Linked DNA regions of Homo sapiens: regions 2, 3, 4, 5 and 6 are each linked to region 1. Evidence: promoter capture Hi-C in 16 types of primary human blood cells and fetal thymus (Javierre and others, 2016). All regions are on one chromosome and are shown on one strand. The core of a region is centred on a gene start or on the middle of the fragment in contact, and the rest is flanking DNA. Distances in the headings are between cores, read along the strand shown. Region 1 holds the start of NIPSNAP3B (nipsnap homolog 3B). Region 2 holds the start of FKTN (fukutin). Region 3 overlaps FSD1L (fibronectin type III and SPRY domain containing 1 like). Region 4 has its middle 18 kb from the start of FSD1L. Region 5 has its middle 36 kb from the start of FSD1L. Region 6 overlaps SLC44A1 (solute carrier family 44 member 1).

The links. The method cuts DNA at HindIII sites, captures the fragments that hold promoters and counts their contacts. A CHiCAGO score of 5 or more calls a contact.
Region 2: a contact is called between the fragment with the promoter of FKTN here and the fragment with the promoter of NIPSNAP3B in region 1, in 1 of 17 cell types (total B cells). The highest score is 5.0, in total B cells.
Region 3: a contact is called between a fragment that was not itself captured here and the fragment with the promoter of NIPSNAP3B in region 1, in 1 of 17 cell types (monocytes). The highest score is 5.1, in monocytes.
Region 4: a contact is called between a fragment that was not itself captured here and the fragment with the promoter of NIPSNAP3B in region 1, in 1 of 17 cell types (M0 macrophages). The highest score is 6.1, in M0 macrophages.
Region 5: a contact is called between a fragment that was not itself captured here and the fragment with the promoter of NIPSNAP3B in region 1, in 4 of 17 cell types (M2 macrophages, M0 macrophages, endothelial precursors and 1 more). The highest score is 8.0, in M2 macrophages.
Region 6: a contact is called between a fragment that was not itself captured here and the fragment with the promoter of NIPSNAP3B in region 1, in 1 of 17 cell types (total B cells). The highest score is 7.6, in total B cells.

Annotation. Positions count from the first base shown.
Region 1 is chr9:104,762,674-104,767,218 of GRCh38, reverse strand. NIPSNAP3B (nipsnap homolog 3B) reads right to left here and starts at 3,090. Exons shown (of 6, transcript NM_018376.4): 1 at 2,919-3,090; 2 at 684-894. The coding sequence starts at 2,978. RefSeq lists silencers at 2,775-2,964, 3,162-3,361. The HindIII fragment of the contact is 4,394 bases long and covers 222-4,545 here.
Region 2 is chr9:105,555,623-105,560,167 of GRCh38, reverse strand. FKTN (fukutin) reads right to left here and starts at 2,037. Exons shown (of 11, transcript NM_001079802.2): 1 at 2,003-2,037. It overlaps FKTN-AS1 (FKTN antisense RNA 1), which reads left to right and starts at 1,862. Exons shown (of 3, transcript NR_184141.1): 1 at 1,862-2,398; 2 at 2,993-3,054. RefSeq lists enhancers at 1,777-1,966, 2,127-2,176. The HindIII fragment of the contact is 7,231 bases long and covers 1-2,893 here.
Region 3 is chr9:105,475,948-105,480,492 of GRCh38, reverse strand. FSD1L (fibronectin type III and SPRY domain containing 1 like) reads right to left here. Exons shown (of 14, transcript NM_001145313.3): 6 at 1,117-1,139. Among named protein-coding and RNA genes, the nearest start is that of FSD1L, 30 kb to the right of the region's middle. The HindIII fragment of the contact is 2,099 bases long and covers 1,308-3,406 here.
Region 4 is chr9:105,427,309-105,431,853 of GRCh38, reverse strand. It overlaps a transcript of SLC44A1 not described here. Among named protein-coding and RNA genes, the nearest start is that of FSD1L, 18 kb to the left of the region's middle. The HindIII fragment of the contact is 6,517 bases long and covers 1-4,545 here.
Region 5 is chr9:105,410,032-105,414,576 of GRCh38, reverse strand. It overlaps a transcript of SLC44A1 not described here. Among named protein-coding and RNA genes, the nearest start is that of FSD1L, 36 kb to the left of the region's middle. The HindIII fragment of the contact is 1,578 bases long and covers 1,266-2,843 here.
Region 6 is chr9:105,393,821-105,398,365 of GRCh38, reverse strand. SLC44A1 (solute carrier family 44 member 1) reads right to left here. Exons shown (of 16, transcript NM_080546.5): 16 at 1,020-4,545. Among named protein-coding and RNA genes, the nearest start is that of FSD1L, 52 kb to the left of the region's middle. The HindIII fragment of the contact is 4,279 bases long and covers 217-4,495 here.

The DNA.
Region 1 (4,545 bases), core at 1,841-4,340:
CAGAATTATTAAATCTCAGAGTTGGGTGACGCTTAAAAGTTAACTATCATCCTTTAAAAACCTCCATTTTTATAAAGCTCCCAAATGGGTGAATTATTTCTGCAAAAATGCTGATATCCAGCCCTAGCTGTAACAATAATAAGAAAAAAAAAATTATCTTATCCTAATGACACTCCTTTACCCAAGAACTGCAATTAGGAGTCTCATAAATTTACAAAGCTTTCTCCCTTATTTAGCCAGTATTCCATCTTCGTCAATACCATATACATTAGTTACACATTTAAAACATTTTTATTAAATATACATGTCTTTTGGCAGGCCCAACGGTGATCTTAACCCACTTGAACATTTACAATTACTGCTTTAAATTTTTCATGAGCTATCTTTATAGCAAACGATTCTAACATTTTTCTGAGGATTAAAGTCTAATTCACAATTTTATGGTTTGATATATGAGACTGCATGTTTTCTCATTTATGATAACATAAGAGTTCAAGCAAGGGGTGGTTAGAGGTGTACCACTGGGAAGAAGATCTGCTAAATTTATTTTTTTGGTATTGCTTTTAAAAAGTCTTACTTAACCTGTATGTATCTATGGTAATATAGATCCAAGAACTAAGTCTTATGTTACATTTAACAGAATGAAAATCTATACTGAATACTAAAACTGGATGACTCTTTACCATACTTCCAAATATGAAACACTTTATTCGTTCTGCCTCCAAATTCTACACTCCAGAATCCAACCAATTCAGAGTAAGAGGTCCGAAGATGAATGTTTTTCTTAAGATTTTCCATGAACGCATTCATATTTGAAGGTTTAAGGTAATAAGTACGAAATTCATAGAACGTTCCATCGTATTGTCTAGGGCCCGTAGCAAAAGATGAACACACCTGAAGGAGGTAAGACAAATGTAAATATCTTGGGAAGGTACAATTACAGATTTGGTTACAACCAAATCTGAGTCTGGTACAAGGAACACACATAGACTCATTATCCATTGTTTACTTTTGTTGTCAATTCTCCATATACACTTGTTTACATAGAGATGTCAATAAAGATAACTACTCTTAATTCTGATGAATATATAGCAACTGTTTCCTAGCAGGGGTCTACCTCTAGCCATTTTTTCACGAGAATTTGCTCACAAGAAGGCTGTGGGATCATAATGATACTCCTTTACCGAAGAACTACATTTAAGACTTAGTCTCTTTAATTTACAAAGGGTTTTCCCCTGTTTAGCCAATATTCCATCTTACTCAATACCATATGTATTAGTTCCACACATTGAAAAAAATTTATTAAGTACACATGCCTTTTGGCAGGCCCAAAAATACGTTTACTAACAAAAAACTCTTGTTTTTAAAAGGTTCCTAAAAAAACAGGAAGGGCTATTCAGGTCAAAGTATTTCCTGAATCTACTGATGAAGACTACCGGTCAAAAACAGGACTGGAATGTAACTAATATAAAAGGAAGCTATAACTTATCCAATTGCATTGTACTATGGGTGTATACTGCATAAAGGCTGAAAAGGAAAAAAACTCAACAAATGAGAATTGTCTCCATCATTGTTTCTAATTACAGATGCAATATCAAGAAGTATGTACATTTAGTGCACTCAATTATACCAAGTTTATGGAACTATCCTTTAAGAACCACCCTTTGTAATAGTCATATGCCCAATGGGTAAATTTTCTGTCCTAATCTGGCCCTCTGAGCCTGAGTGAGCTTAATGTTCAGTAGCAAATGCCCTGTCAGAAATTATCCAGTCTGTCTGTATGTACGTACATGCAAATATTTATGTAAACACACGTGTATACACAGACCACTCCCGTGGCATTCTAGTTTACAAATCCATTCATTTAGGCATGGTTAGCATGTGACAATTTCCTGAGGCTCACTACCCAGAATAATCTATCGCAACAGTTTCAGTAGGCATCTTTCACTGACATATTTTTGGTTACAACATGCAAATGTCTATGTAGTTTGTGTGCATAACGTCTTAATTATAATTGTCTATCTTGAGTTCATTCATCTCCAGTATGAGTTATGCCCTTATTGCCCAAGTGTCTTAGTTTTCTTAGAAAACCCTTCTTCATACCAAAAAATACCTGCAACTATCCTTTCTTTTGATGGCCATTCTTTTTGGGTCAGTTTAATCAAATTCTGAAAATAAAAAACTGCTTAGTATCTACAGTTTAAAAATATTATTATCTCGGAAAATGGGCCAATGAGGTATTTCTAATAACTGCTTTTAAAGTTGATTTTCGGAGATTTGTATCTGGAGATGTTATCCTAAAAAAACGCAACAGCTGGCGCCACGGGGGTGTCCCGGGAGTTGTGGCATTTAGGCTAGAAACAGCTGGCATCAGGCTGGGCACAGTGGCTCATGCCTGCAATCCAGCACTTTGGGAGGCCAAGGTGGGCGGATCACGAGGTCAGGAGTTCGAGACCAGCCTGACCAACATGGTGAAACCCCCGACTCTACTAAATAGTAAACACAAAAAAAATTAGCCGGGCGTGGTGGCTGGCGCCTGTAATTCCACCTACTCCGGAGGATGAGGCAGGAGAATCGCTTGAACCCGGGAGGCGGAGGTTGCACTGAGCCGAGACTACGCCACTGCACTCCAGCCTGGGCGACAGAGCGAGACTCCGTCTCAAAAACAAAAACAAAAATCACAAAAACACTGGCATCCAGTTAGAAAACCCCTCTGACAGCGACTGCCAGCGAGACGACCCCGGCCTGTAGCCTCCTCCTTGCGCGCCAGACGGCTCCAGAGACCGCGTTAGAACTTCGGCGGCGGCGCGGGGCCCCAGGTCTGGGAGCGCCTGAGCGTGGCTCGCACGCTTCAGAAATACCCCCCGCCCCTCCCCTCCCCTCCGGCCAGGGCTCGGGCGCGCCCCCGCGGCCAGTACCTGAGGCGCGAGCGTCCGTGAGGCAAGCGCCTTGGTCAGGCCGCTTCTGAGAACGAGCATGGCGCGGCTTCGGCACTGAGAAAAGCAGCCAGCCGAGTCCTTTGTGAGACTTCTCTGAAGTCTTCCCGAGTGGAAAAAAGCGGCTCCTGGACCACTGGCGAACTCAGGCAGGGGCGGGACTCGGCGGGGTCAGCTCCACCCCGGCGCGGGAGGCGCGACAGGTCCCGCAGTTGGCGTCTTTCTCTTCGGCGCTGAGCCTCGGTCCCCCTTGGTTTCCTGAAACGTTCTTGCCCCAGACGTTAGAGGTGACAGAATTAGCTGAAGGCTGGGATCGTTCCTGCCCCACCTTTCTGGGCCCTGACCTCATTCGCTCCGATGCGCAGTTGTGTAGATTCGTAAATGTGCGGCGGTTGTGCTTGTGTTGCCCCTGGAGAAGGAAGGGGAGGTGTTCAGCGTGTGCATGTGCAGTGCTTTGCATTTAAAGTCGAGATGTTGACAGGGTTAACTTGTTTCTTTGTTTGAGACGTAGTCTTGCTCTGTCGCCCAGGCTGGAGTGCACTGGCGCGATGTCGCCTCACTGCAAGCTCCGCCTCCCGGGTTCACGCCATTCTCCTGCTTCAGCCTCCCCAGTAGCTGGGACTACAGGCGCCCGCCACCACGCCCCGCTAATTTTTGTATTTTTTAGTAGAGACGGAGTTTCACCATATTGGCCAGGCTGGGACAGGGTTAACTTTTACAGGTTGTGATAGACGTGTATTTGTAGACCAGTGAGCCTTCGCTTTTCTGCATTATCTGTCCCCATTGCCACCCCACTGTGATCTTGGAAGGCTCCTAATAAAGATTTAATTTTCCATGAGCTCAGTGGAATAGCAGCACCGAGCCTGATAGGAAAAAGTCGAAGTTAAACATAGATAGTTTGAAACTAGATCGTTCTGTAAGCCTTAAGAGCAAAACAGCCGACCTCTGGTCTAGTCCTCCCAGTCCCAGAGTACTGGTCCCCAGACTAACCACCTTCAACATTTTAAGCTGTTCTTCTAATACCTGTTTCCGTATGTTTTTTATTTTTTTGAGACAGAGTCTTGCTCTGTCGCTCAGGCTGGGGTGCAGTGGCATGATCTTGGCTCACTGCAACCTCCGCCTCCCGGTTTCAAGAGATTCTCCTGCCTCAGCCTCCTGAGTAGCTGGAATTACAGGCGCACGCCACGACACCTGGCTAATTTTTCTATTTTTAGTAGAGACGGCGTTTCACCATGTTGGGCAGGCTGGTCTTGAACTCCTGACCTCAGGTGATCCTCTCGGCTCAGCCTCCCTAAGTGCTGGGATTACAGGCACGAGCCACTGCGCCTGGCCCGTATTTTTAAATAATAGTCATTTTCTGCTATTTCTTGCATTTTCAGTTATGGAGAGTATGTGTTGCCTTCCTTCTGTGGCAGATGAGGATTTAGGTCTCACAGAAGCCACTCCCCCGGGGGCTTATCATTTGTGTTGAGAACATTCAATATCCTCCTAGCAATTTGAAACTATATATTATTAACTATAGTTATCCTGAAGTGGTATAGAGCACTAGAACTTATTCCTCCTATCTAGCTATAATTTTGTTTAACAAATCTCTCCCATCCTTGTCTTC
Region 2 (4,545 bases), core at 788-3,287, 790 kb before region 1:
TGAAACATATAAATATTTGTTGAATAAATAAATATGTAAATGATACCACTTCTGGGTAGACAATTAGGCAGTGGAGATTATATCTATTTGAATTATTTATTTTCTGCCAGAATTCCCAGAAGTAGGTGCTTATTATTTGCTGTAAATGCTGTTAAATTAGCTTAATAACAACACTGGGCCCCTGAGAATCTACAACTATATGTAACTTTTTTAAAAAGAACTCCTTCCTTGCTCTTAGCTCTGAGATCCACATGCCTCCTTCAATAATTTCTCCAACCTCCTCTCTGTGGGTATGGCCTATAGTTACTCTCTCTACAATCTCTCCCTGAAACCAAATCCATTCTCAAGATTTTAACTACCACCTGTGAGAGAAAACACTATTTAAATTACAGTCCATGCACTCTATCTGCCTATATTTTCAACTCTATTTCCTGCACCTCACCTCAAATTTAACATGTTCAAAATTAACTTTTTTTTTTTTTTGAGACAGAGTTTCGCTCTTGTTGCCCAGGCCGGAGTGCAGTGGCCTGATCTTGGCTCACTGCAACCTCTGCCTCCCAAGTTCAAGCGATTCTCCTGCCTCAGCCTCAGGAGTAGCTGGGATTACAGGCGCCCGCCACCACACCCGGCTAATTTGTTGTATTTTTAGTAGAGATAGGGTTTCACCATGTTGGCCAGGCTGGTTTCGAACTCCTTGGCCTCAGGTGATCCACCCGCCTCAGCCTCCCAAAGTGCTGGGATTACAGGCGTGAGCCACCGCGTCCAGCCCCAAAATTAACAATTTTATTCTCTGTCAACTATCGTCCTCTCCCAGTCCAGAAGAAAGTAACTAGCTCTCCATCCTCACAGTCTCTAGTTTTACAGGCTTTAGAGAAGAGAGATCAGCTGGCCCAACATCACCTTATGGAGAATAGGCTCTAGAAGAATTAAATGACAGCCAAGAGGCTAGTTATTGGCAACCTCAGCACTCTACGATCTAAATCACTTTATTCCCAGTACACTATTGCATGCTGGAATTCAACAGAATTCCCATTTTTGCCAACAGCACTTAAACTTACTTTTTAGAAACGCAGGTTAAAAATATCATCACCCAGATCCAAGAAATCAAGTCCTGCGTATTGTTCTTTCGGCATTTCCCCGGTTCCTTTCTTCTTCCTTGTCAGAACACCCTGCACTTCCTTTCCACTAAGAGTTCTTTCACCGTTCAATGCCAGCCTTCCCAAATCCTCTACCCTCACTAAACTTATGTCCACAAATAGAATCGCTAAAATATAAATGCTTATTCCTGCATTTGATATCTTTGTCCATGGCCCAACAGAGATGGTTTCCAATCGTTCAAACCCTATTTATCCTCAGAGTCTAGCTCAAACACAGCCTTTTCTACTGGGCTTCCATCTGCCCAATTTCTAATATACTGCTCTATCATTCACTTTGTCATTTGTTCACAGCTTGATTTTTACCGACTGGAAACGTGCTATCTTCAAAAGCATAAAGAATCTGATATATCATCTAGGTCCTTTTTTTTTTTTTTCCACATCTGACAAAACTGAAGCCAAGAGAAATGTGGCTTACCTCATGTTAAATGAGAAATTGTAAATTTCAGGCCGGGCGCGGTGGCTCACGGCTGTAATCTCAGCACTTTGAGAGGCCAACGCGGGCGGATAACCTGAGGTCAGGGGTCACTACCCTAACCCGGCTACTACAAGAGTCTCGATCGTCCTCCAACCTTTCATCTGTCCCAGGATTAAGATTTCACCTGATGACACGCCCAGAAGTGCGGGAAGGACTGGCCAAGTGGAAGTCTACCACGCGATGCTCGTGGACTGACTGAGGAGTACCCAGCCCGGAGCGCGCTCAGCCTGTGGCCGGCCTCCTCACCAAGGGGTAGGCAGGTGCCCAGAATGCTGGAGGATGCCCGGTAAGGGCACCCGAGTCGCCAGCGGTACCTGTCTGAAGGCGCCCACCCATCCCCGGGTACCGACCTGAGCCTCCCGTACCTTACCTCACTCAACAGCAGGCTGCAGCCGCTCCGCTTTACGGCACTCACAGCAACCGCCGCAAAAGCCGCCGTCAAGTGCTGAGCGGCGGAGGCTGGCTTGGTTCCTGCTGGGACGTTCCCACGGTCCAGCCCCAGCCTCGGCTTTCCTGTGACTCTTGTCGCATCCTCACCGCCAGAAGTTCACTGAGCCCTGGCGATTCCTCGCTTTTATAATCTAGCCACTTAGCCAAAGCCCTTTTTTATCTCTTGCCTAATTGACAACTACAGCAGCGCACTGAGGCAATCTGAGAGTTTAAGTTCTGAAACGCTTTCGACAGCGGAAGATGAACTGGAGGCAGCAGCTGAGCCGTTTTCCAAGCCCGTTAAATGTGAACTTCTGATAAACGAGTGGTTTTTTTAGTGCGTGTGCTTTGCTAGAGGGATTCAGCATAACTCCCTGAAGTTTGGTTTGGATACAATTAGTAGAGCTAGGGGATAGAGTGGAAAATAGCAGCTGCGTTCACTATTCCTCATGAAGTTGAGGTGCCTTTATGACATTCAAGATTTAGCGACCTGTTGCCCTCCAGTTTAAGGCTGGATACAATTTTGTACCTGATTAACTTTTTTCTTTTCTTTTTTTGTAGAGACGTTGGGGGCTAGCAGGGCGGGGTGTGGCGGGGGTGGGGGGGAGGGCGTCCTCACCATCTTGCCCAGGCTGGTCTCGAACTCTTGGCCTCAAGCGATCCTCTCACTTTGGTTCTTTTAACGGTGTAATCCAAAAGGTGGTTGTTAAGGCTCAGATATTAATCTTCTTATAAATTTTTGAAAACCATAATTCACTAAACCAGTTACTGTAATTATAATTTATTTCTACAAAACGGAAAATACTCCCATCATATATTTGTTTTCTAAGCTTTGTTTTTAATTCTATCAGTACAGAAAGAAAAGGAAGAAAAAATCTTCCTCACTTCCTACAGGTTATGACATTTACCAACTTTTTGTTTTTCCTTCCAGAAATTTCCTATGCACATACAAGCTTACTGTTGAAGTCCTCTCATCCAATGCACTCAGAACGGGTAGGTACTCAGTAGGTTAATAAAAAAAAGTGGAAGGTTACACCAAGAGGAAGTAAGTTATCAAAGCTTAATGGCATCATTAACACAGGTGCTAACGTGATGGGACATGGGAAAACTTGAGCATCACATACTTGCTATTGATTGAAACACATCAAATATAAAAATTCTTGAGTTTATAATGACTCCTTAAAAAATAAAATTCAGTCGTGATTGAAGATTGCCAAGTTGAAGATTAAATATTCTAAAACTTGATAAGGGAAAACATCAAGCATTTATCCTGCCTTTCTTGTATGAATTGAATTTTAGTGTAACCAAAGTACTTATAAGAGTTCCAGCTAATAAATGGAGGATGATAAAACAATCACGATTTTGTAACTCCTAATAAAATAATCGAAAGGGCAACATCAATAGATGATAAAATTAAGGTGAAAGGTTGATGGGGAACTTTATAATAGACTGGCATCACCTAAACCCACTGATCTTAATCTCACTAAATTTGGGACAAGCATATATTATGTACTTCCTGATGTGATAGAAAGTACACAGCCACACCTGTGAAGGATTCTTGCCTAAAAATTGAACCTGCATTTACTCAAACTCTAGATCTAATACAGGATATAGAGAAGCAACTAAATTCAGAAAACGGGACATTCTACCAGACAAATTCCTCAGTTTTTTTCATAAATGGCATTTAAAAGCAGAGGGAACTATTGTAAAATCAAATATTTAAGAGATGTAACGGAGTACAATGTGTGGACCCTGTCTAGATCTTGATTTGAACAAGATAACTGTAAAAAGATACTTCTGAGACAACTGAAATTTTAGTATGGACTGATCCATTAGATAATAGTACAGAATTACTGTTAATTTTGCTAAGAATGTTAACAGAATGTGGCTGTTTTTAAAAGCCATCATGGATGCATATAGCATACTTACAGGTGACATTTTAAAACAAAATAGATAGCACAAACATGGCAAAATGTTAACAATTGATTAGGTGATGAGCACAAAGCACTGGCTTTCTACTTTTCTGTATATTTGGAAATTATAATTAAAAGTAACAGGAAAAGGGAAAAATTATCAGGTTCTTAGAAATAAATACTTTCCAAGTGTATAACAAATCTAGTTCTGAATAAACCTTCTCAAAAAGGCAGTTTCAGTAGAGGGTTACAATGGCCAATCTTCTGTTTTGAACTAAGTTCATTTTAAGCATGGACCAGCTGATTAGAGTATCTCACTGTTTTTCTTACAAAACCATAGACATAATGCATCATCCATCATTTGTAGTTTCTGTTTCTGTAAAATGGACCAGGAACTTAAAGATACAAGTGAAGGAATATAAATTTGGAGTCCTGGAATTTATTTTTAAAAATCTTCCCCTATCACTCACAATTACTTTGGCCACAACTAACTTTGCAACTTTTTAAACTCTTCATCTCTAATGGTTCTCGTACTTTTCTTATAAGTACCTTTTCATACTCATTTCATATT
Region 3 (4,545 bases), core at 1,108-3,607, 710 kb before region 1:
TAGCAAGACCCTGTTTCTACAAAAAATACAAAAATTAGCTGGGTGTGGTGGCACATGCCTGTAGTCCCACCTATTCAGGAGGATGAGGTGGAGGATCACTTGAGCCCATGAGGCAGAGGTTGCAGTGTGACAAGATCGCACCACTGCACTCCAGCCTGGGTGCTAGAGCAAGACTCTGCCTCAAAAAAAAAAAAAAAAGAGAAACCCAGAAGTAAAACTGTCAGCCAAGATTAACAATAGAGGCACTGTTTTTCACATAATCTATAATGAAAATTTTTGTGAATTATCTGATGAAGAATAATTTAATCTAGGATTTGGAGTGGCACTTTGAAGAGCTGTGCCTTTCAGAGAATCTCATGACCCTCAGATGAAAAAACTTGCTATAATCTCAATACAGACAATACTCAGTGACTAGACAGGCAGATCCAAACTGTTCCTTCTGTGTTAATGCAATCCAAATGTTGCCAGCAACTCCTTTAGCAATCTATGTTCATTACAAGTACTAAATTCCTTTTCTTAAGCCTGGCTCTACCAATAAGAAAGAACTTTTAAACCAAAACCTTTAATAATTTTCTTTAATTTTCTCTTCCCACAGAATATTAACTAGATAGTGGTGGCATTAGAAATAGAAAGAGATGGCACCAGGAACAGGATGGAATGAGAATACAAGGTGTTAAACAGGAGGGCAGTGAAATAGGAGCGCTTTAGTTCTTGAGGACTACTTAAAATGAGTGAGTTCAAAGAAAATAAGACCCACTTACATTTAAATTTAACAACAAAAAACACATTCCAGAAATATATATTTTTAAGTTATTCAAAATAGTTCCCTTTTCATTAGTACAACTAATTAAGAACTGTTCTAAAACTAAAACTAACTATATTTCTACACCAGAAATGAAATTCTTCTGAAGCACATAATTATCCACAACTATGCTTTTAAAAAATTTTATTGATACAATGGTTATTCCAAGAAAATACACAGAGGACATTTTATTTTGTACTTGGTCATTGGGTACTTTTATCTTAACTAACACAATTTTAATTAAAAAACTATTTCTGAATTTCATTTCTGACTTCAATATTTATACTTAAGTAAAAATGTGTTTTATACCATACCTATCCTTGATCTGTCTGGCAGCCTTGGAGCCAATCAGGGAGAAGAGAAAGAAGGCAAGTTAGTGCTTTTCATGCAAGTTTCAATGGCAGTGACATGCAAGAAAAGTTAGGATATAAACCCTGCAACAGATTAGTTCATATTCACCAAAACACAAACTATAGAAAATTTATGTGTATAGTTCACATAAGCTTTCATGTGATGTTAGAATTATAGTAGAAAATCCAGACCCCACAAAAATCACCTTTTAGGAGGAAAATTTAACACTTCGAACAAATTCCAGGTGACTATAAATGTTTTATTCTTACCTTAAGATTATCAAAACACACCTCCACTTTCATTCAGTCTGATACTCATCAACTAGAGCAACCAATCTCCTTCATGGGACAACTTCCTTCATGGTTTTCTTGTACATGTCAAATTTACTCTCTAATTTTTCTTCAGAGATCTCTTTCACTACTTCATAATCGTTGTTCCAAGTTTTCTCTATATGCCTCTATAGGGCAAGGAATTCTCAGAGTTTGCCTGCTAACAAATACAACTAGGCTGCAATTCTATAAACCTTTACTCCAAAGAAAGTTGTAATGGCAGAAATTCAGACACAAAGAGACCAGAGAAATACTTCTAGCAATGGGGTCTTTCTCCATGATGATTTCATACATGCTACCAACTTAAACCTATATATAAGGTATCTCTTTTGTCTTTTTTTTTTATGCAAGCACAAGTTTAGAAAGGGAACTCAGCTATTTACTTGGGGCTGCATGGTCACACAAAATAATAAAAAACAAGTAAAAACTGTTGTCCCTTTTATATTTACATACAATATATCCAACAAAAGTTTTTTTCTCCACAGTAACCAGTACAGTTAACAATATATCAGACATAGACAAGGCTGTTTTGCTCAACACTGTATCCCCAGTGCCTAGCAAAAATGCTTAGGACATAGTAATACTTAATAATTATTAAACTTATTTGAATGTTAATTAGATATATGTAGCAATGCTTCTGTGGCCTCTCTTCTTCAGTTCTAACGTTGTTCCTATTCATTATTGGTCATTTTTATATCCACCCTAAAACATTCTGGTCTGAGGACTCTTTCTACTCAAAAACACAGAACTCAGATTTTTTCTTTTTGAGACAGAGTCTTGTTCTGTCGCCCAGGCTGGAGTGCAGTGGCACGATCTTGGCTCACTGCAAGCTCTGCCTCCCGGGTTCATGCCATTCTCCTGCCTCAGCCTCCCAAGTAGCTGGGACTACAGGGACCCGCCACCACGCCCGGCAAATTTTTTTGTATTTTTATTAGAGACGGGGTTTCACCATGTTAGACAAGACAGTCTTGATCTCCTGACCTCGTGATCCGCCTGCCTCAGCCTCCCAAAGTGCTGGGATTACAGGCATGAGCCAGCACACCCAGGCAACACAGAACTGAGATTTAAGAGATCAGCATATTATACAGTCTCAGCATTACTATTAATCAGTTGAGACCTTGTATATTAATCATTCTATTTCTTTTCTAAGGAATTTTGTTTCTTAATGTTTCCGAAAATCATTCCCACGTGCTACACAAACAAACAAATTCTGTGGAATCTGTATCTTAAGTCATGAAACTACTGTAGTACCAGAGATAGAAAATGTTTAAAAAGTTAATTTAATTGATTTTTTAATTACTATCATTAAAGCTGGAATTACAAAACAAAGATTTTAATGTAAGTGTTAAAGGAAGGAAAGAAAGGACTCTTCTCTGTACCTGATATGAAACAAGTACTACCAGGATTACTCTTTGCCTCTCCATTCCCTTATTTCTCCTAGGAAAATGATATGACTTATCTGATAATGGGTTTGAAAGGAGAAACTAGACTTTCTGCTTTTTCTCACAGCTTGCTTGCCCACAGATAACATATATTCTGTTCTTTCCCTCTGTACCATAACTTTCACTGAAAGAGGCTCCCCCTGCCCATCACCTGAGGCAGCCCCTGCTGATCATGCCTGGGTGAATTTGTCTGTCTAATTCTAGGTATTTAGTATTGGGAAACTTGCCCAATAACAAAAGCCATCTTTTCCAATATGCTTTTATCATTATTTGGCCTCTTATCAGTTTTTTTTTGTCTTATTTCCTAACTGGTTTCAAACTTAGAGAAATATTACCAATCACCCTTGCATAACCCAATGATATGAAGACGATTACCGTTTTTTAAACTGACCACAATGATTCAATTTTGTGTCAAGTGTTACTAAATTTAATAAGGTAAAAATTTTTAGTGTGTGTGTGCACATATGCATGCATGCAAAGCTTTTATGGTATCACTTCATGTACCATGCTGTTTGTGAAAAACCAGGAAAGGAATAAATGAAAAGCCAGATAATCTAGGAAAAACTGTTGTCCATGCATTTACATAGAATATACCCAGCTAGTAAAACTGAAAACTCCCATGGCTCCACTTTCATTTAGGTTCAAATTTTACTGCATATATATTGTATAAATGCAAGAGAGGTTTAAGAAGTTATTCTGAGCAATGATTAGAAGGCAGAGTTTCAAATTCTGAAGATATTTCTTTGAAAGGGCCCAATTTCAAGAAATGTCTTAAATTGGAAAATAATTTTTTTTTCTAGAATTCTCTCAAAACAGAAAGGTATCCAAAAGATACACAATACTATACAGCTTCTAAGTTTCTATTCCTCTATTTCAAGAACGGTGACTTTTGTCAATTACAAAATTGGCAGAAAGGATTTCAATAGAAGATCTAAAGAGTGATGTTGAGTAAAGTAATATAACTAAGCTTCTTGGAAGCTTTTCAATAATATACAGTACCATAACCTAAAAATAAATCTAAACATTCATTGCAGCTTCTTCATAACTCACTACATGGAATTATGTAGGCTCAAATAAATGTGTTGGCAACAGAGCAGTGGTAAATCTTGGAATCAGCTGGTACTAATTAAACAGATGTTTGACAAAATTCAGCATTACAATTCTACTTAAGGAAGTTTGGTCTCAGGTGACACTTCTATGACTGATTAAAGAAATGGAATTGTAAGATTTAGTTTAAAAACAATTAACTAAGAGATGGAGGGAGGCAATGAGGGAAGAGAGAGAGAGAGGGAGAAAGGAAGGCACCATCTCTGATATGAATGCAGAGAAACTGTAATACGAGTAAAGAAGAAGTAATCGCAAACCAATCTTCATAACTGCCAATTAAATTTAAAGACGTTAAACCAGATATTTTCCCAGTCACATAGAAAAAAGTTAACAGATCTTTTCCCAATCTCTTTTGTTCTTAATCTGTAATGGGTGAATATAGAAACTATTTTCTTCTGTGAATTTATCAAGCACTTTGAAGATAAAGTATCTTATTGTTTCTATCTTTTTTTAATATCATCATTTCTCTTTTTATAGAAAGGGAGAGGGAAAAAGAGCCTCAAAGCCTTATTTT
Region 4 (4,545 bases), core at 1,332-3,831, 670 kb before region 1:
GGAAATAAAATCCTCAAATTAAAGCTGCTTTGTTGTACACAGCACAGAACAGGGACTCCATAAATATTTATCAGGTGATTTTGAGGGTGCTGAGATGGGTGTATGAGTTATACCCGCCTAAAAATTACTAGGCTTCAGATTATTTTAGCCAAGCTATATGGACTGGAATTTGGACCTTATTTGTCTTTTTGTCTCTATGGAGACTCTTGGAGCTGATCAGAGGTACAAACTATTTTCAGGCGCATGCCCTTTTTATGATCCTCATGTCTCAGAGGAGGCTGTCAATCTCTTACTCACGTCAGCTGACAGGTAAGCAGCATGGGCCAGTTAGTGTTCAGCTATACTCCAGGCACTTGTTAGAGAATGAAATATACTCATCTCATGCCAGTGTTTATCAAGAGCTCAACTAAGACCTATAGACCAATGGAATAGAATTGCAAATCTAGAAATAAACCTACATATCTATGGCCAATTGATTTGGACATTGACACGATATCAAGACCATTCATTTGGAAAAAAATAGTTGTTGTCCAAATGGGACAACTGGATATCCACATGCAAAAGAAGAAAGTTGGACATCTACAAATATATCATACATATACACCTACATATACTCCATATATGACATATAAAAAATTAATTCAAAATAGATCAATGACCTAAATGTATGAGCTAAAACTATACAACTCTCAGAAGATAAACTTAAGGCTAAATATGTATGACCTTGGATTAAACAATGATTTCTGGGTCATGATAGCAAAAGAACAAGCAACCAAGGAAAAGACAGATAATTTGACTTCATCATATGAATGTATGAAAAGGTGCTTAACATCATTAGTCATAAGGAAAATGCAAAACAAAACCACACTGAGATACAACTTCACACTCACTGGATGTCTATAATCAAAAAGATGGAAACTTACACTTGTCGAGGATGTAGAAAAATTGGAACCCTCATACATTGCTGGTGGGAATGTAAAATGGGGCAGCTGCTGTGTAAATCAATTTGGCATTCCTCAAAAAGTTAAATACAGGATTACCATATGACCTAGGAATTCCACTCCTATGTATATAACCAAAAAAATTGAAAACGTATGTCCGCACAAAAACTTGTGTACGAATGCTCATAGCAGCATTATTCAGAATAGCGAAAAGGTGCAAATCCAACCTAAGTATCCATTAACTGATGAATAAATGAACGAAATATAATATATCACACATCAGAACATTATTCAGCCATAAAAAGAGATGAAATATTGGTATATGCTACAACATTATTGAAACTTGAAAACATGCTAAGTGAAAAGCTGACAAAAATAATTCTACATATTGTATAATTTCTTTCACGTGAATCCAAAATAGGCAAATCCACAGCAAAATAAAGTAGAATAGTGGTTTCCAGGGGCTGGGTGAGGGGAATAGGCACTGAATGCTAAAAGGCATGGAGTTTCTCTTTGGGCCAATGAAATGTTCTAGAGTCACGTGGTGGTCTTAGTTGCACAGCTTTGTGCATTTGCCAAAAACCATGAAGTAAACACTTTAAAATGGTCAGTGTTATGATATGTTAATGATATCTTAATTTTTTAAAAAAGAGAAAGAAAATAACTATGAAATAATTTAGTAATAGATGATTGAGCTCCACATCATAAGAACTATAATTAGGCCAGGCGTGGTGGCTCATGCCTGTAATTCAGGCACGGGGAAGCCAAGGGAAGAGGATTGCTTGAGCCAAGGAGCTGGAGACATAGAGGGACCATGTCTCTACAAAAAATTTAAAAATTCGCCGGGCATTGGCGGCACATGCCTGTAGTCCCAGCTACTCAGGGGGCTGAGGCAGGAGGATCACTGAGGCAGGAGGAGCCTGGAAGGGTCAAAGCTGTGGTGAGCTGTAATCATGCCACTGCACTCCAGCCTGAGCAACAAAATGAGACCCTGTCTCAAAATATATATATATACTTGTAATTTTACAACCTATAATTAAGGTATACACATGCATAAAGAAATATGAAAGAAGATTTAAATAAAATTGAGATCACACCAAATTTCTGCATACCTTGAAATGGTTCCTAAAAGGCTTCTCCGTATTTGAAGATTTAAGTGTTAATGTTTTTACTATTTGCAATAAATTCTAAATCTTGGATGATGATTAATCTGTAACTTCATTGAGGTAAGCACTTTTTCCAAGGGTACATCTTTATTGTTTTCCCCTCAGTAGGCATAATTACTGTCAAAAATTAAGGTAATACAGAAGGGCCAGGTGTTGTGGTGCATGCCTATAATCTCAGCACTTTGAGAGGTCAACGCAGGAGGATAGCTTGAGCCCAGGAGTTTGAGAGCAGCCTGCACAACATGGCAAAACCTTGTCTCTACAGAAAATTCAAAAATTAGCCAGGCACGGTGGCACATACTTGTAGTCCCAGCTACTCGGGAGGCTGAGGTGGGAGGATGGCTTGAGCCAAGAAGGCGGAGGTTGCGGTGAGCTGTGATCGTGCCACTGCACTCCAGCCTGGATGACAGAGCCAGACCTCGTCTCAAAACAAAAACGAAAACAAACCAAAAAGATTAAAGTAATACAGAAAAGCCCTACTCCTAAATCACTCTAACCTTTGAGATAATCTGGTTTTATATCCTTTCAGTTCTTCCTTTTAAGGCAAGATACGAATTGTGTGCCCTGTGGATGTGGAAGCGTATCACTTACCTGTGAGTGAGACAAGGAAACAGCCACTGTGGAGATGTGAATGCAGCTTTGTTTTATTTTTTGACCATATGCCCAGTAACTCATTAAAAGTTTGAAGTGAGTATTCCTGCACCATTCAAGAATATCCGAATTTATTAAAGTTATGAATAACCGGCCGGGTGTGGTGGCTCATGCCTGTAATCCCAGCACTCTGGGAGGCTAAGGCAGGCGGATCACGAGGTCAGGAGATCGAGACCATCCTGGCCAACATGGTGAAACCCTGACTCTACTAAAAATACAAAAATTAGCTGGGCGTGGTGGCGCGTGCCTGTAGTCCCAGCTACTACAACTCCAGAGGGTGAGGCAGGAGAATCGCTTAAACCCAGGAGGCGGAGGCTGTAGGGCGCCGAGATTGCGCCACTGCCCTCCAGCCTGCGCAATGGGAACGAGACTCCATCTCAAAAAAAAAAGTTATGAATAACTTCATCGATATCATAGTCATAATTCTAGTAGTGAATGCATACTGTACTAAATGTTTCCTAGGTAGCACAGCCCATGCTGACTGTTCTGCATACTCAGGATAATGGAATCCTCCCAACAATCAGTCTTTTACAGATGGGGAAACTGAGAATTAGATGGGCTAAGTAACTTGCCCAGGACCAAAAAGATGGCAGAGCTAGGATCTGAACCCAGATGTGGTTGATCACAGAGTCTAAACTCTGAACAACTATACTTCTTAGAATATCATAGATCTACTCCATGTGACAAAATATCCACACAAGTTGATGGGGGAAGGAATAAATTGCATAACAAATGGGCCTGACTCCATATTATATCACAAAATTATTTCTAGCTATTAATAAGTATAAAAAGTGAAAGGAAACCATTAAAAATAGAATATAAATTGTATCTTAATTTATAAAAGAAAATAATTTTTTAAAAATAGAAAATATAGGTAACTATTTAACTGATTTGGGGGCGTAAGGGAATTATCAATAAATTTACTGATTTGGGGGCTTAAGGAAATTATCAAAAATTTACATCGTATAGATTATAGGTAAAATTATCACCAGCAAAATTAAAAGACAAACTACAAAGAAGGAAAAAGATTTGCTACTAATATGACCGAAAAAGTACTAGTATCCCTAATACATAAAAATCTTTTATTCAACAGTAGGAAAAATGGTGACATCTCAATAACAAAATGGCAAAGGACATGAATACAGAATTTACGGAAGAGGAAACATAAAGGACTAATAAATTACTAAAAAATACAAATTAAAATAACAAAGGGCTGTCATCTTTTGCCGTTATTATTAAGGGTGATAAGAATGATGATATGAGTATCTGCCGGATGTGGAAAATGGTGACATTCATAGACTTTAGTACAAAGGATTGGTAGAGCCTTTCTGGAGAGCAATTTGGCAATATGTATCAACATTCATAGAGTGCCTTCACCACTTGATGTAGTAATTCCCTTTCCAGAAGTCTATCTAAAGGAAAGAATTAGCAGGGTGGCAAAGATATCTCTATAATAAAAAGATTATAAATAAAAGTTTAATAAAAGGGAATATACTTCCACTATTAAAAATCATATTTCTGAGGCCGGGTGCAGTGGCTCACCCCTGAATCCTGGCATTTTGGGAGGCTGAGGCAGGAGACTTGCTTGAGCCCAGGAGTTTGAGACCAGCCTGAGCAACGTAGTGAGACCTCTGTCTCTATAAAAAAATAAGTTAAAGACATCATATTTCTATACAAAGATGATCATTATAGCATTATTAATAATCCCTTAATTTTGAGAGGAAATTGCTGAATTCAATTATAGGAGAATTATTGAATAGAATATAGTACATTCAAATGAAAGAATA
Region 5 (4,545 bases), core at 805-3,304, 650 kb before region 1:
CGGCAATATTAACTTTGTAAATCCAAGATAAATAAAAATTCTAGTCGTAAAAAAAGGGATAAATTAGATTGCTACAAATAAATTACAACAAAAATTTCATTAGAAACTTAAAATTGCTATAACATGTTTACCCAGGGGGTGCTGAGGGAGCATGCATTCTTAGGAACTTTAATGAAAATCATCGATCCAAATGCAGACTACAGCTAAAAAACACTAACTGTCGGCTGGGCGTGGTGGCTCACGCCTATAATCCCAGCACTTTGGGAGGCCGAGGCGGGCGGATCACGAGATCAGGAGATAGAGACCATCCTGGCTAACACAGTGAAACCCCATCTCTACTACAAAAAATTAGCCAGGCATGGTGGGCGTGCCTGTAATCCCAGCTACTTGGGAGGCTGAGGCAGGAAAATTGCTCGAACCCGGGAGGCAGAGGTTGCAGTGAGCCAAGATCGTGCCACTGCACTCCAGCCTGGGCGACAGAGCAAGACTCTGTCTCAAAAAAACAAAAATACAAAAAAAAAAAAAACCAAACACTAACTGTCCAGCGAAAGCTTAGCATGCCCTGAGTCCATCTATTTTTTTTTTTAACTTTCTGACTCTTAGAAAAATGTTTGCACTGGAATAGACTTTAAAGGTCATTGAATTAGCCTTTCACTCTGTGCTCAATACTGCTTTACAACATCCCAGCTGCAAAAGTACCACCCAGCCTCTACACACATTCCTTCGTAGTCAGGGGGATCACGTCTTCTCCTGGGGTTAAGTCCATCTTGGTAGTGTTCCAGTTTTTAGGAAGTCTTCCTCACATTCTGTCTGATAGGCAGGAAAAGCCAGTGACTCCACTAGGTGGCCTTTCCCCTCCTAGGACTTAGCATAGTGCCTGGATTAGGACTGCATCTCAGCTGCATTTAACAGAAACCTATTATAGTGGCTTAAACAAGAAAGGGATTCATTCTTCTCATGTAACAGTAAGCCCAGAAGACATCAAGCCCAACTGTGGAGAAATCAGGCAAGAATGCTTTCTGGGAACCAGGCTCCTTCTATCTTTTGGTTCTGCCATCTTTGGTCTGTGGTTCTGTTGGTGTTTGTAATATGTCTTTTGTTCTTTCAAGTAGGATCACATCTGCATTCCAGACAGGCCAGAGAAGGGGAAAACCAGGAAGATGGGCGGCACCTATATTGGGAAGGCGAAATTTTCTTGGAAATTGCCAGTATTCTTCAGCTTATATCTCATTGGGCAGAACTATGTCATACGACCACTTCAAGCTTCAGGGAAGTATGGAAAGGTGAGTATTTTAGTAAGGCATTTTGCTAACCAGAATGATATCTGGGTTATATTCATGAAAAAGATGGGCAGAAGAGCAATAGCAGGGCAATCAGCACTCACTGCCACAGCCTGATAGTAATAGGTGATTAACATATGTTAATTGACTGATGAAACAGAAGTCTCTTTTTCCAACCATTAGAACCCTTTAGGGGCTCAGGACATGACTATAGACACCATTTTTTCTACAACATCCCTTTAGATATTTGAATATAGTAATCATTGCTTTTCCCTTTCTCTACCCCAAGATGTCTCTTTTCCCAGTAGATATCTTCTCTAGGCTTGTCTCTGAAAACACTCTCATTCATTTATATTCCAGGTGTGGATTGACCTATAAAAAGTAATGCAGAGTAGGCAGGGCGTGGTGACTCATGCCTGTAATCCTAGAACTTTGGGAGGCCGAGGCGGGTGGATCATCTGAGGCAGGAGTTCGAGATCAGCCTGGCCAACATGGTGAAAACCGGTCTCTACTAAAAATACAAAAAAATTAGCCGGGCGTGGTGGCAGGTGTCTGTAATCCTAGCTACTCGGGAGGCTGAGGCAGGAGAATCGCTAGAACCCAGGGGGCGGAGGTTGCAGTGAGCTGAGATGGCGCCACTGCACTCCAGCCTGGGTGACAGAGTGAGACTCCATCTCAAAAAAAAAAAGTAATGCAGTCATTTCCTTTCTCCTGCTGTATATCATGTGGTCGCTATTATCAAATAGCTACCACAAAAGCACATATTGTGCCCAGACCTTGGTTTCCAAATACCAGTTTCCATTAAAAGGAACTAGGGCTCACTTGAAGACTTGGCTGATTACAGAGTTGAAACCAGGAAAGCATAAGATGAGCTTGGAACATCTGGTTGCGTCAGTGAATAAGGAAGTACTCAAAGAATGATGGGGACAGATCAAAAGTACAGGAGCCAGCTTGAATGGGCTCCCATTGGCTAAATCTGAGACAATGTGGGCATAAAAATAAATGAGGATAACAGAAAAAAGTAACAATCTGGGATTTGATATTTATTTATTTGATGAATAATCAATATTTATTCAACAAATAAATATGTATTTGATGACTAATTAAAACGTTATTTAACATATATATTATTTGATGAATAAATATTTATTTGATGAAAAACTAAGTGGGTGAGAAGAGATTTTCCTTACAGTAGAACACCAGCTAATAAATATAGGAAGAATGATGAAATTAGAAAATCATCATTATATGAAAACACCAGTAATAGCTGTTTCAGAGAAGAATGTGAATAGATAATGTGAAAAGTTGATGAGAAATAGGACTTTTACATAGTCTCAAAATATGTCTCCACAAGATACTTATTAATTACAAAGGGAGAAACAGTACATTTACATTGGAGAGACCAGGAAGATCCACCTTAGCCAAATGATCAAAGTTAGCACACAGTAATGGGACAAACGAGATCATGTGCCTCCTGATATGATGCACTGAGAAGGACACAGTTATGCCTTCTGTGGTATTCCTGCCAAAAAGGCATACCTTGGATCTAATCATGAGGAAGCTTTAGACAAACCGAAATTGAAGGTCATTCTAGAAAATAAATGGCCTGACTCTTCAAATACATCAAGGTCATGAATGACAACAAAAGACTGTGCAATTGCTCCAAGTTAAAAGAGATTAAAGAGACATGAAAATGAAATGCAATGTGTGATCCTAGATTGGATTGTTGACCAGAAAAAAAAAAAGCTTTTTTCCATAAAGAACATTAGTGGGACAACTGTTAAAATTTAAAGAAGGTCTGTAAAATGCACACGCACACACACACACACACACACACACACACATACACAGAGAGAGACCAAGAGAGATGGAGACAGAGAGAAATGGAGACAGAGCAAGAGAGAGGGAGGGAGAGGTAGGAAAAGGGAAGCAGGGGAAGGGGAAGGAGAAGGGAAGAAGGATAGAGGAGTGGAAATGAGGAGAAAAAGCAAATGCATTAAAATACTAACATTTAGGGAATGTAGATGAAGGGTATATATAAAAATTCTTTGAACTATTCTTCTAACTTTTCTGTATGTCTTTATTTTTATTCTGGTAAAATATATATAACATAAAATTTACCATTTTAACCATTTTAAAGTGTACAATTCAGTGGTATTTAGTTCATCCACAAAGTTTTGCACCCATCACCACTATACAGTTCCAGAATATTTTCATTACCCAAAAAGGAAACCGTATTTCCAATAAGCAGTAATTCCCAATTTCCCCAGTGCCTGATAAGCATGAATGTGCTTTCTGTTTCTATGGATTTTGCCTATTTTAGATATTTCATATACATGGAATCATACAATATGTGGCCATTTGTGTCTGGCTTTTTCCCCTTAGCATCATGTTTTCAAGGTTCATCCATGTTGTTGCATGTATGAGTACCTCATTTCTTTTTACAGCTGAGTAGTATTTTGTTGTATGGATATACAACATTTTGCTTATCATTCATCAGCTGATGGACATTAGTTATTTCTACTTTTTGGTTATCGTGAATAATGCTACTATGAACATTTGTGAGCAAGTTTTTCTTTGAACACCTGTTTTCAATCATTTGGGATATATACCTGCATCCCATGGTAATTCTATGTTTAACTTATCGAGAAACTGCCAAACTGTTTTCCAAGTGGTGGCACCATTTTACATTCTCACCAGCAATGTATGAGTGTTCTCGTCAACACTTCTTATTGTCTATTTGTTTGAGTATAGTCATTCTAGTGGGTTTGAAGTGGTATCTCCTTGTGGTTTTGATTTGCAATTCCCTAATGACATTGAGCATCTCTTTATGTGCTTCATGGCCATTTTTAAACTTCTTTGAAGAAATAGCTCTTCAAGTCCTTTGCTCGTTATGGGTTGTTTATTTTTTTGTTGTTAAGTAGTAAGAGTTGTTCACATATTCTGGACAGTAGACCTTTATCAGATACATGATTTGCAAATATTTTCTCCCATTTTGTGGGTTGTCTTTTTGTACTTTTGATTATGTCCCTTGAGGCAAAAATTTTCCAATTTTGATGAAGTCCAATTTATCTATTTTTCTTTCATTGCTTGTGTTTTTGGTTTCATAGCCAAGAAACAATGGCCCAATCCAAGGTCATGAAGATTTACTCCTATGAGTTCTTCTAAGAGGTTTAGGGTTTTAGCTCTTATATTTAGGTCTATTTTGAGGTAATTTACTTGTTATTTTCATAACATTTTGAGTCAATTTCCTTGTTATTTATTT
Region 6 (4,545 bases), core at 1,107-3,606, 630 kb before region 1:
ACAACTCTTTTTGGCAGGATGGTGTAAACAACCAGGACTATCATCAGCTCACATTTGCTAATAAAAGGCAGTTTACAGTGCAGCCTCTCAAGAAAAATCCAAAATAACAAAACAAATTAGGAGAGGTTTACGGTATTCCAAAAGGTCTTCCACTTAAGAAGAACATCCCTTCCTTCGTCCCTAACATTACCTAAAATTATTGGTTTTTAAAAAGCTTGATTTTTCTAAACTTTAAATGGGGCACAGCTACTGCCTAAATGATGGCACACCACACAGTTTCACAAACGCACTAAACTCATTACAGATCCAGGCTCCAATTCACGTGCAGGGCACTGAACCAGGCACAATGAATGTCTTCCATGATGGACACTGTCCAGCGGAGGCTTTTCTTTTCTTTTTTTCTTTTTTTTTTTTTTCTGAGACCGAGTCTCGCTATGACCCCCAGGCTGGAGTGCGGTGATGCGATCTTGGCTCACTGCAAGCTCCGCCTCCCGGGTTCAGGCCATTCTCCTGCCTCAGTCTCCCGAGTAGCTGGGACTACAGGCGCCCGCCACCACGCCCGGCTTATTTTTTTGTATTTTTTTTAGTAGAGACGGGGTTTCACCGTGTTAGCCAGGATGGTCTCGATCTCCTCATCTTGTGATCTGTCCGCCTCGGCCTCCCAAAGTGCTGGGATTACAGGCGTGAGCCACCACGCCCGGCCCAGTGGAGGCTTTTCTACTCTGCCTGATGATTGAGTTCAGTTGCAATCTTAGCATTCACGCGGCAACTCAGACTCCAGCTATGAAGCCTGGCCTGGCAGTGGATGAACTTTGTACTTCAGAAATTGGTTTAGGTACATTTATAGTTGCTATTCCGAAGCCCCCAGAACATGCTGCGAGAGACAGAAAGGAACAGCTGGGAAATTCTGGGGCACCCTTGCAGCATACTGACCTAATTTGAAACGAAGATGTTGCCCATGATTTTATCAGTCACCACCCTGGGCATGGGGAAGTGTTACAACACAGTAGACAATAACATTCTTTCCTATAAAATTTTATTTATTACATAAAAAATTCTATACATTTGTTAGACTAAAATACAGTTTTCATTATAATTCTGGCAACTGAGTCAGTACACAGAGAAAACTTAGCATTAGATCAGCACTTTTCTTTCTAGTTCGTATTTCTGCACAAGAAAAACATTTCAAAGCTCCGTTTCATATAGGCTGATTGTTCTCTGAAGCCAGATGGAATTCCATCCAATTCAGAGCTCTTGGAAGTTAATTTCCCAGCAAGATTTGATAACTCCAACTCCAGAAAGTTAATTGCTTAATATACATATTTTTAAAGTCCTCTGAGAGCATAATGCTCCATCTGCAAAGTCTGCACTGTGTCAATAATGACCGTCACAAATACTAGGGCTACAACTGTGTCTGTGGGGCATGTTCAAGCACCTACATGTTTGTTCCCCCACATGAATACAGTGTAGTGACACTGTAATAAGAAAAAAATCCAAAATAATGGTAAGGTAAATGATTCCAAACTATGAATTCATGGAAGGCTTAACTGTGATCCTCCAGTTTATAATGGACAAAGACAAGACAAGATACAAAAATTCATTTTGGCACTATGAAATAGGATGCAAATGGCAAAAAAAAAAAAAGACAAAAAGGCATCAGATTGAGAAATATGTGGCACCAAAACATACTTCTCATGCCACATTACACAGCTGCGAGAAATCAAGACACACCGATGTGTGTTTTCTGCTCATATCACCCCATATGCTGGGCTGGGCTTGACACTGGATGTGAAGACTCAGTGCCTGAGAGATCAATAGCAGGTCCCTACTGTATTGACTGATCTTTAAATTTGGCCGCCTTATTATTCTAGGAGCTCTATTCTAAACTCAAGGAGTTCAGAAAGGCTGTGCCAGCCAGTAAGTAAAGTTGGACCTTTGGTCTTCAGAAGATAGGGTTTTGTCTTTGGTTGTTTTTTGAAGCCCCTGTCATTTTGCTTGATGCCCTTCACACTTTTCTCCCTGCCTTTTTGTTAAAGTTTTTTTCTCCTGTAATAAAATCAGTTAATAACCACTGAACTAACTTCTTTAGATTAAAGCTCTATTAGAAGTGCATTCAGTGGTCCAGAATATTCTGAGAAAGTATAACAACTTCTTTCATTATGGAGCTCTCAGTATCTTTTTATAGGGAAGAAGTCAGAAAACTCCAACAACACAACACAATCTAGTAGCATTAAGGCAACACAGCAGAAGAAAAGTTAACTGTCCCCATGTGATCATCTCTGAAAATCAAAATAGGCAAAAACAATAGGGGCCAAAAACCAAGTTCTGAGCACAGACTACAGGAACCTAGAGGATGGGGGAAAATCTACTTAATAGTCCCTGTTTCAAATCACCAGCCCCCAAAGCTATCCTATTATTGTCACATTCCTGTGGGGTATCTAATACAATTTACAAAAAAAAAAAAAAAGTCACCACCGGATTATCAACATGGTAAATGAAGAAGGAGCTCACATTTTCTAGTGGCAACTAGAATGATCCATGGAACCCATTCTATCTGCCCAATTATTCCCAAGTCTTCTTTTCAATGTCTACTTTTTTTTTACTCATATGATTTAACACATGCTCCTGAAACGACAGTTCAAATTATAATCCTAGCTGACAGGATGGGTGGATCAGATTCATACACGAAGGTCAGAATATTCCCTTTAAGTCTTACACTTCTGTGACAAAAGGGCATATCACATTTAGATACTTAGACTGGACTTACGCCCTTTTCTATCCAACATGGGAATTTCCACCAGTGGTCTCTGCATTTACTACTGTGGAAGGTTCATTAAAACTCTTCTAGGCCGGGCGCGGTGGCTCATGCCTGTAATCCCAGCACTTTGGGAGGCTGAGGCGGGTGGATCACCTGAGGTCAGGAGTTCGAGATTGGCCTGGCCAACGTGGTGAAACCCCGTCTCTACTAAAAATACAAAAATTAGCTGGGTGTGGTGGCACATGCCTGTGGTCCCAGCTACTCAGGAGGCTGATGCAGGAGAATCACTTGAACCTGGGAGGTGGAGGTTGCAGTGAGCTAAGATTGAGCCACTGCACTCTAAGCTGGCGATAGAGCGAGACTCCGTCTCAAAAAAACACCAAAAACAAACAAAAAAAACCCCCAAACTTTTCTAGGAGTGTGGGGTGGGGTAGGGGGCTGACTTTTCTCCTTTCTTCACCAGCCAGTTATATTTCCACTTTCTTCAGCCTGAAAAAGTAGGAAATGGTTTGATGCCTGACTATAAGTCATGAGCCACTGGGATCAAATTTCACAAGAACTTCAAACCCCTTGATGAGTTTCTGCCTGCTTTTTCAAGGGCCCAGGGAGCCTTCCATGTAGATGCAGCACCCTTACCTAATAGTAAGGTGCAGATGTGAAGAAATCCACATGCTTCCCTAAAGAAGATAGAGTAGGTAAGGGACTGGGGGTGGAGTTCTATTGGCAGAGGAATCTGAAGCTGCTCTAGTGGGTGACTGGAAAACACTAAAACAGAACACACCTCCGTGATTTATGCAGGAAGAAAAAACATCTTTTGCATTTCTACCTTCAGCATCTGCTCCTCCAACTTTCTACCAAATTTATTTTTTGCCAACTATGGACTACCCTTGAGTTTGCTAATTTATCATCATCTTCAACTGTTGTTGGAACTGGACATGTTGACAAATATATTTTAAGACAGTAGTATACTGATAACACTAAGCCACATAATGTCATAATGTCATAGCTGAGCTACAATAAAAAGAATCAAGTGTTTTGGTAGATGGATTAATTACAAGGATTCCCTATTTATTTCTTCTTGGATATTTTTTTTTTTTTGGCTCACTGCAAATAATCTGGTACCTTGCCCCCAAATAACCGCCAGGACACACACACACACACACAAACACACACACACACACACACACATACACACCCTCATACCTCCAAGGAAAGAAAATCTTACTGTCATGAAGATTCAGTGTTGATCATCTTGTTATTCCTTCAGATTAGTGTGGTTTCTATTCCCTAACCTGCTACTAAATTACATAAAGTCTTTAAGTTATAAAAATGATTCCAGGTCAGAAGGTGGTAAGCATCATCTCAAAAGTATCTCTAGTGGAGGCCTAATCACTTCCTCATTTCAAAACACATTATCAGAACAACTTTAGAGCAGCCTTTTGACTTGGGTTCATTAGCCCCTGAGGGGGTACAGGGGTGGAAGCTGGCCGTCTGAGGGCCCTGAAATTCTATGAGCATTTTGAGTGTTCACAGACATGTGATGTGCATTTGAAGGAAAGATAGTCCATAGCTTTCTTAAGCTCAAAGAGACCCATTGTCTCTTCAAAATAACTTGTTTTTGAATATCAAATATTAAATTCAGGTCTTAGCAAATAAAAGTGAGAAATTTCTGAGACATTTGTAAATTACAATGTTTCCATGTTCAACTAGATCTTCACTAGACCATTAATAAAAGCTTTATTATTCTGAGCTCCGTGTCCTGGAGAAAATCATTTAAGTTGTAAAAC